Linked DNA regions of Homo sapiens: region 2 is linked to region 1. Evidence: promoter capture Hi-C in 16 types of primary human blood cells and fetal thymus (Javierre and others, 2016). All regions are on one chromosome and are shown on one strand. The core of a region is centred on a gene start or on the middle of the fragment in contact, and the rest is flanking DNA. Distances in the headings are between cores, read along the strand shown.

Evidence for each region. The method cuts DNA at HindIII sites, captures the fragments that hold promoters and counts their contacts. A CHiCAGO score of 5 or more calls a contact.
Region 2: a fragment that was not itself captured here is called in contact with the fragment with the promoter of HIF1A in region 1 in 1 of 17 cell types (monocytes); the score reaches 5.5 in monocytes.

The regions. Positions count from the first base shown.
Region 1 is chr14:61,693,941-61,697,775 of GRCh38, forward strand. HIF1A (hypoxia inducible factor 1 subunit alpha) reads left to right here and starts at 1,573. Exons shown (of 15, transcript NM_001530.4): 1 at 1,573-1,899. The coding sequence starts at 1,865. HIF1A-AS1 (HIF1A antisense RNA 1) reads right to left here and starts at 1,883. Exons shown (of 2, transcript NR_047116.1): 1 at 1,767-1,883. RefSeq lists an enhancer at 892-1,261 and silencers at 1,332-1,631, 1,932-2,031. The HindIII fragment of the contact is 8,611 bases long and covers 1-3,835 here.
Region 2 is chr14:60,983,939-60,987,545 of GRCh38, forward strand. SLC38A6 (solute carrier family 38 member 6) reads left to right here. Exons shown (of 16, transcript NM_153811.3): 3 at 792-865. Among named protein-coding and RNA genes, the nearest start is that of SLC38A6, 4.5 kb to the left of the region's middle. The HindIII fragment of the contact is 1,575 bases long and covers 1,301-2,875 here.

The sequences.
Region 1 (3,835 bases), core at 323-2,822:
GCTTGATTCTGGAGCCAGTGTTCTTAACACAGTATCTTGAGAATGTTAAACTAAAAAGTTTTTAATTTACAGTATTCTTTCCACAATTAAAAAAGAAATTATGAGTAATTATTTTTAGTTCTTTCTTCTCTTCAGGCATTTCCCATGGTTCTTTTCAAGACATAATACATATCATTTAGTGTTGTAGATCTGAAAAAACAAAAGTAGCGTGAAGATCAAAAATTTTCTAAAGAGACGGAGTCTCGCTACGTTCCCTAGGCTGGAACACCCAGGCTTCTCCAGCCTCACACCTCTGAGTAGCTGGAACCACCCTGTCCGCTAAGGTCAATGTTTAATCGTATCTTTGTAGGTCTACTGACCAGTTAAAAAGAGGTGCTGTATACATTGGTTGTTGTCTTGTCAGAGTTTGATGCTTCTATATAGACCATTGTTTTTACATGCTAATACAATTGAAAGCCACTACAGATATTTATATTTACAACCCAAAGCTAGGTTTTAACAAGAAACTCATAAGGCAAAGGTGAGAAGTAAAATAATTTAGCGCCAAGTGGAGATATATGTGCAATGCTACTTTGTTGGGCTCAAAACATATTTTTCTTTTAGAAGACTGACAGGCTTGAAGTTTATGCCTCCAAAGACAAAAGTGATTATGTTTTGTTTAGTAGCTTGCAAAGTTGCCAAAGGCCATTTTTTCTACTCTTTCCCTGAAATTGGTTTATATGCTTATTAAAGTCATTTATACCTATTTGCAAATGCTTAACATAGTTTCAGATTTTAAGATTTCCCTGCAACTTTATTTCCCTTGAAGTTTACAGCAACAGGAGTTCATTTTTATTTTTAATTGCATTTATTCAGTAAGTAAACTCCGCCACAGAAAAACTTAGTAGACAAGGTGAGTTCCCCTGTGCTCCGTGGCAAAGAGTGCGGTGGGTGACATTGACCCATGGTTAGGTAATCTGGTAAGGAAAGACCCCGTTGTAACACATCTGAGCAACGAGACCAAAGGAAGGGCTTGCTGCCACGAGGCGAAGTCTGCTTTTTTGAACAGAGAGCCCAGCAGAGTTGGGCGGCAATCGTGCCCAGCACTGAGGCCGAGGAGAAAGAGAGCAGGAGCATTACATTACTGCACCAAGAGTAGGAAAATATGATGCATGTTTGGGACCAGGCAACCGAAATCCCTTCTCAGCAGCGCCTCCCAAAGCCGGGCACCGCCTTCCTTCGGAGAAGGCGCAGAGTCCCCAGACTCGGGCTGAGCCGCACCCCCATCTCCTTTCTCTTTCCTCCGCCGCTAAACACAGACGAGCACGTGAGCGTCGCAGCCCGTCCCAGCTGTGCCTCAGCTGACCGCCTCCTGATTGGCTGAGAGCGGCGTGGGCTGGGGTGGGGACTTGCCGCCTGCGTCGCTCGCCATTGGATCTCGAGGAACCCGCCTCCACCTCAGGTGAGGCGGGCTTGCGGGAGCGCGCGCCGGCCTGGGCAGGCGAGCGGGCGCGCTCCCGCCCCCTCTCCCCTCCCCGCGCGCCCGAGCGCGCCTCCGCCCTTGCCCGCCCCCTGACGCTGCCTCAGCTCCTCAGTGCACAGTGCTGCCTCGTCTGAGGGGACAGGAGGATCACCCTCTTCGTCGCTTCGGCCAGTGTGTCGGGCTGGGCCCTGACAAGCCACCTGAGGAGAGGCTCGGAGCCGGGCCCGGACCCCGGCGATTGCCGCCCGCTTCTCTCTAGTCTCACGAGGGGTTTCCCGCCTCGCACCCCCACCTCTGGACTTGCCTTTCCTTCTCTTCTCCGCGTGTGGAGGGAGCCAGCGCTTAGGCCGGAGCGAGCCTGGGGGCCGCCCGCCGTGAAGACATCGCGGGGACCGATTCACCATGGAGGGCGCCGGCGGCGCGAACGACAAGAAAAAGTAAGCCCATTCCCTCGGCCCGCCGCCTTCTCCCCCGGCGACCCCGCCCGCCTGCCCGCCCTGGGCTCCTGGGCCGGCCTCGGCGTTAATGGGATTGGGGGGGGCAGCCTTTTTGTTTCTGCTGCTGCTCCCCTCCCCTCTCTTCCCCCAACCTCGCCGGCCGGGCTCCCCCGCTGTCCACGTCGCCATCTTGTCGTGGGGGGTGGGAGACGCCTCGAAAGTGCTTTCAGGGGCCGGGGTCTGAGCCCTGCTTGCCCTCCCCGCCGGCCGTGGGGGCCTCGCGCCGCCCACCTACCCGCCTCAAAAACCCAGCCTGCTCTGTGGCCCCATCCGGAGGGGACTTTACCCAGCCTGAAAACCCCGGGAAGAGAAATGAGCTGCAGCTCGGTAGCCGCGGTTTGCACCCGGAGCTTCCGCTCCTTCCCGCCCCCATCCTCTCCAGTTCCATTGAAAACTCGGCCCTGGGGCGGACCCTGCACGCTGGTCCTGGCTTTCCAGTGGACTTGGGGCCTTGAGTTCCCGACTGAGGGACTCGCGTGGTCGGATGCGATCTTGTCCTGTAGTTGTCCAGCCGTCGCGGGTGTCTTTGCCTTTGTGCATTAGGGATTTGCCGCGATGGCCTTAAGATGCGAACTTTTTAGTTTGCACGTGCAGGTTTTGTTTCGTTTTAATCGCCTTGAAAAACTTGCCTAGACTGAGAGTCAGAGTAATGGGAATTTAGGGAAATGGCAACATTTTAAAGAGAACTTCAGAATTGGATACTTGAGTTCATATCACCTGTCACGAGAACGCAGATATTATAAATGAATATATGCCTCATTCATTCTTCAAATAATGAAAATGTAGGGGCTGGTTAAATTTAGGCAGTTTTAATGATACTGAAAAAAGTATATGATGAGTGAATGAAATGCGGCACTAAAATGTTGCAAAAATTTTCGAACTCTGTCTCATTTTCCTGAAATTGAAGTATATTAAAGGAAAACCGTCAACATATATCTAAAGTAAGTAATCACTCGGTTAGAACTTAATGCAAGTTTTATAAATCACCTTGAAGTTTGAGTCTAAGGGGTACATTAGAGATTAAGAATTGTGAGTTGGACCAGTGGTGTTAAGAGCGGACTCCCCCATCCCCCAACACACACACAATTTTGCCCACTTTGGCATTTTAACTTTTAAGGAAATCACTTAAGGAATTGAAGATTTAGAGTAAGAGTTTTGGTTAGTAGACTGGCTTTGCTGTTAAATCCTTCCACTCTTCTGGCAGAGAGATTAATTTCCCTAATCAGTATCAGCAGAAGATAAACTTGTTTATATTCCTGCTGTTTTGTAGATCCCTTCTCCTGGTCCTTCTTCAATAGAATATTAAATTCTTAGTTTGTATACAGCAGAGAAGGTCACTTATAAAATTCAAAAAGTGAGCAAACAGGTCTAGATTAATTCCAAGAGTTACCAGGAATTAATTGCAGTTTATTTTGCGGAGGTGATTACAGTGCTTTTGATGAAATGATAAAGCTGCTATATTGTAAACCTAAGGCAGATTACCTCTGTGTAGTGCCAGTTTTCTATCCTTATTATATATTGAATCATACTTAATACAATGCATTAAATTATGTACCACTTTTTTTATATACAGTATCGAACTCATTGTTTTGCCATTCATCCGTTCAGAATATCAGAAGCAGTTTTGAAACGAATTAATAAATTAGCTACTGTTCATCAGCCCCAATTCTAAATAAGCTCTTAGATTTTCCTCAGCCCATCTGTTACTTTCAAAATTTTCTCATTTGAAAACTTGGCAACCTTGGATTGGATGGATTCATATTTCTTAGTATAGAAGTTCTTGATATAACTGAAAAATTAAGTTAAACACTTAATAAGTGGTGGTTACTCAGCACTTTTAGATGCTGTTTATAATAGATGACCTTTTCTAACTAAT
Region 2 (3,607 bases), core at 838-3,337, 710 kb before region 1:
TGACATTTGTACTTTTACCTCTCAATTTTATTTATTAACAAGTATTAACTGGACCACAGAGAGAAAATTTCTTCAATGACTGGGGCAGTTCACTGGGGATAGCTGTATAGAAGCTTGTCCTGCTGGTGTCTTCCTAAAAATGAATAGGAAATTATCTAAGTTTTTTCTTTCACACTGTTGGTGAGAGGACCTCAATCATTACATTGTTTGCACATTTTTCAAATTGCATCATTAGAGGTGTGTTAACTACATTATTTTAATTTAGTTTGGTTTGGAGAGTGTGTGCGTTTAATAGATGCTAGAAAATACAGCCTAAATAAATCTTAAGTACACCTTAATAAGATGAAGGTATGATAAGGAGGTCAATATCACTGGAAGTAGAGGGAGGAAGGGAAAAAGAGAAGACAATGAGATTGCATAAGTAAAACTTCTGTTTAGACTTAAAATAAGAAGAAAACCAGTCATAAAAAGGAAATATTACAAGATTATTTAATGGCTGATTCAGCAGTCAGCAGACAAGACTGCAAAATGAGGAAGTTTGCTTGTATTTTTAAAAAAGTTTGGTTTTTATTTTTTTTTATTTTAAAATCAGTATATTTTCATTTAAATAAAATTGGTAAATACAAAAAAGTAGAAAAGTATCTTCTTAATTTCCTTAATGAACATAATTCTGCTACTCAGAGATAGTTCCTGTGAATATTTGACTGTTAAGCAATTTGTTTTTGTAATGAGACACCATACAAAAGACAAACTTTTGGGAGGTTTTGACCAGGTGTTCTTTTATGTTTTAGCTTCTTGCTGCTGACAGTTGCTCTCCTGGCTTCTTACTCAGTCCATCTTCTGCTTAGTATGTGTATTCAGACAGGTGAGTAAAAATGTTATGCTGCTTCATTTAATAAAGGAGTCTCTTGAGTTTGTATCTACATATAGAACTGGATGTCTCAAATCTAATATCCAGTGAGCATACATTTTTATTAGATAGGGTGATCGGAATGGAGAATTTGAAAAACCAGGATATACAGACCCAATACTGTGGGGGAATATCCAAGCACAGGATGGGAGGAGGTAATTAGCATTTTTACCTGCTTTCCTCCACAACACAACCTAATTTTCTGGAGTAGAGTAGATCATGGGAGGGTCTAAAAGGTGTTCAAAGGATCCAAACCTTATGCTTATGGAGAAATCATTTTCTCAAGGAGAGAACACCTTCTCAGAGCTACTGTTGCCTTCCCTGCCCCCATCTGCCTGCTAGTCAGAGGTAGGGATGGCAGAATTAGGATTGTAGGAAGTAAGGTCACAAAGCTTTAATTTATTTAGACACATTTTGTATTTTTAATTGCAAGTCTAGAATAGGGTAGTTTTTTCCTAAGAGAAATAAGTATGTGCAGTTAATTCAATATATTTGTGTATATACTTTTTCCCATTTGGAATTTTATTATGCAATTCAGTCATGTATTGAATAAGTTCTTTTAGGATCCAGTAAATAAAAGTATATGAATTATAGAAGTGCTTTTCTAAGATTTTCCTTTTGTCATTAACAAATATTCTATGTTCATCAGTCCTGGTCTTTTTATCTGTCTAGTCTCTTTTGTCTTTGGATTAGGTCAGCTTTGATGCCAAAATCATGGGTTTAATTCTTATATGGATGAGTTCGTTTTGCTTTATCTGGCCTTGTGATGTTCAGATTTTAAGAAGAAAAGTAGATACACAAAATAGATAAAAATGGATTTCTTAATTCATTTAGTGTTTCTATAAAAGAATACCTGAGGCTGCATAATTTATAAATAAAAGAGGTTTATTTTGCTCATAGTTCTACAGGCTCTGCAAGAAGCATGGCCCTTCTTATGAGGGGCTTTTCTGCTCCATCTGCATCTAGTAAGGGGCTCAGGCTGCTTTCATTCATTGTGGAAGGTGAAGGGGAGCTAGGATATGCAGAGATCACATGGCAAGAGAGGAAGCGAGAGAGGAGGGGCATGCCAGGTTCTTTTTAACAACCAGCTCTCATGAAACTAATAAAAGTGAAAACTCACTCATTACCCCAAGGAAGGCACCAAGCCATTCATGAGGGATCTGGCCCCAGGGCCCAAACACCTCCCCTTTGGCCCTACCTCCAACACTGGGGATCTGATTTCAACATGAGATTTGGAGGGGTCTGACAAACCAAACTATATCAGTGAGACTATTCTGTGCTGAAACAGGTGAGTGAAGCCCAGTGATGTTTCTTAAGAATTTTAAGACTCTTCAGAATAATTCTGAAGCCACTGCTCTAGTTTGTTTTCCTAAAACCTGTCCATCATCAGAAATACTCATAGATCTTTTTATACACAGAGAGCTCTAAGCCTCAGGGATTCTAATTTCAAAAATCTGAGGTGAGACTCAAGAATATGTTTTTAACAAGGCAAAACCAGTTTAGGATCCATAGTTTATAGCTCTAACTTGTACCAGTGCTTTGGCCAGCCAGTGCCAGATATGTTTTTAACAAGTCCTCCAAGTGATTCTTATGCAAATCTAGTTTAGGATTCATAGTTTATAGCCACAACTTCTAACAGTGCTTTGGCCATCCAGTGCACGCCTTTGCTCTCAAGGGGCTTGGGTGAATGTGCAGACAGATGAAAATACTAGGAAGCAGTACAAATATTAATCCTAAAGTAACAGGTTGTTCATAAAAGCATCCTGAATTTAGGAATAATAGCTTTAGATAAATATATTTGTAAATCCTGCTGAAACTTGAATTTTAATTGCATGTATTGAAATTTTGCTGAATGTGAAAAAAATTTTACTTAATTGTGATACTTTAACATCTTGGTAGATTCTTTCAATTCATTCTGTTAAAAGATTAATACTTTAGTCAACTATGTGGCAATTATGTCTTTCAAGCTTCATTTTAAAACTTCATTTTAGTTTTAATTTAAGTAAAATGTTTTATTTCGGTTATGTGGGAGTAGTATTCAGTGTGTGGAGATTTCTAAGTAATTTTAATTTTTTACTCCTTCGGTTCACATGTATTTAACTTTAAGATTCTGACACTGTGTTTGTTCTTTTCTGTAACTCTGGGGCGTATGAAGTGAATATATCTGTTTCTCTTCTTTTTTCTTTTTCTTTGATTTCTGTAGCCTACTTGGGCCCATGAACTAACTACTTCATGGTTCTGCCTGCACATTGACTCACCTGTCTTCCGTTGATTGAATTCCTTCAATCTTTGTAAAATTCTCTGTGGAGGTAGGCTTTTCCTTTTTTTTTTTTTTTTCAATACATACATTCATATATAAAGACTAGAGTATAATACGTAACTAACTCTCTCCCAACAGTTTGTTGGACTGTCATAAAGGATTATTATGCTCAGATTGAATTCATTGGTAAGAGAAAGAGCTATCATGAGTTTTTATGAAATAACTTCTTCATTTATTTGCTGGTGGTAAAGGGTAAAGAGAAATTTTCATCTTTATAAAAGTAAAGGATTTCTTCACATGAAATTCTACTTTAGATTTTATGGAGCGTTTGGGGTCTATCAGGACTTTTCATGGGAGCTGAGGTGGAATGTAAAGAACCTTATTCTCTCTAGCCTTCGTTTGTCATCTGTAAAATGGCAATGATAACACTTCCTTCT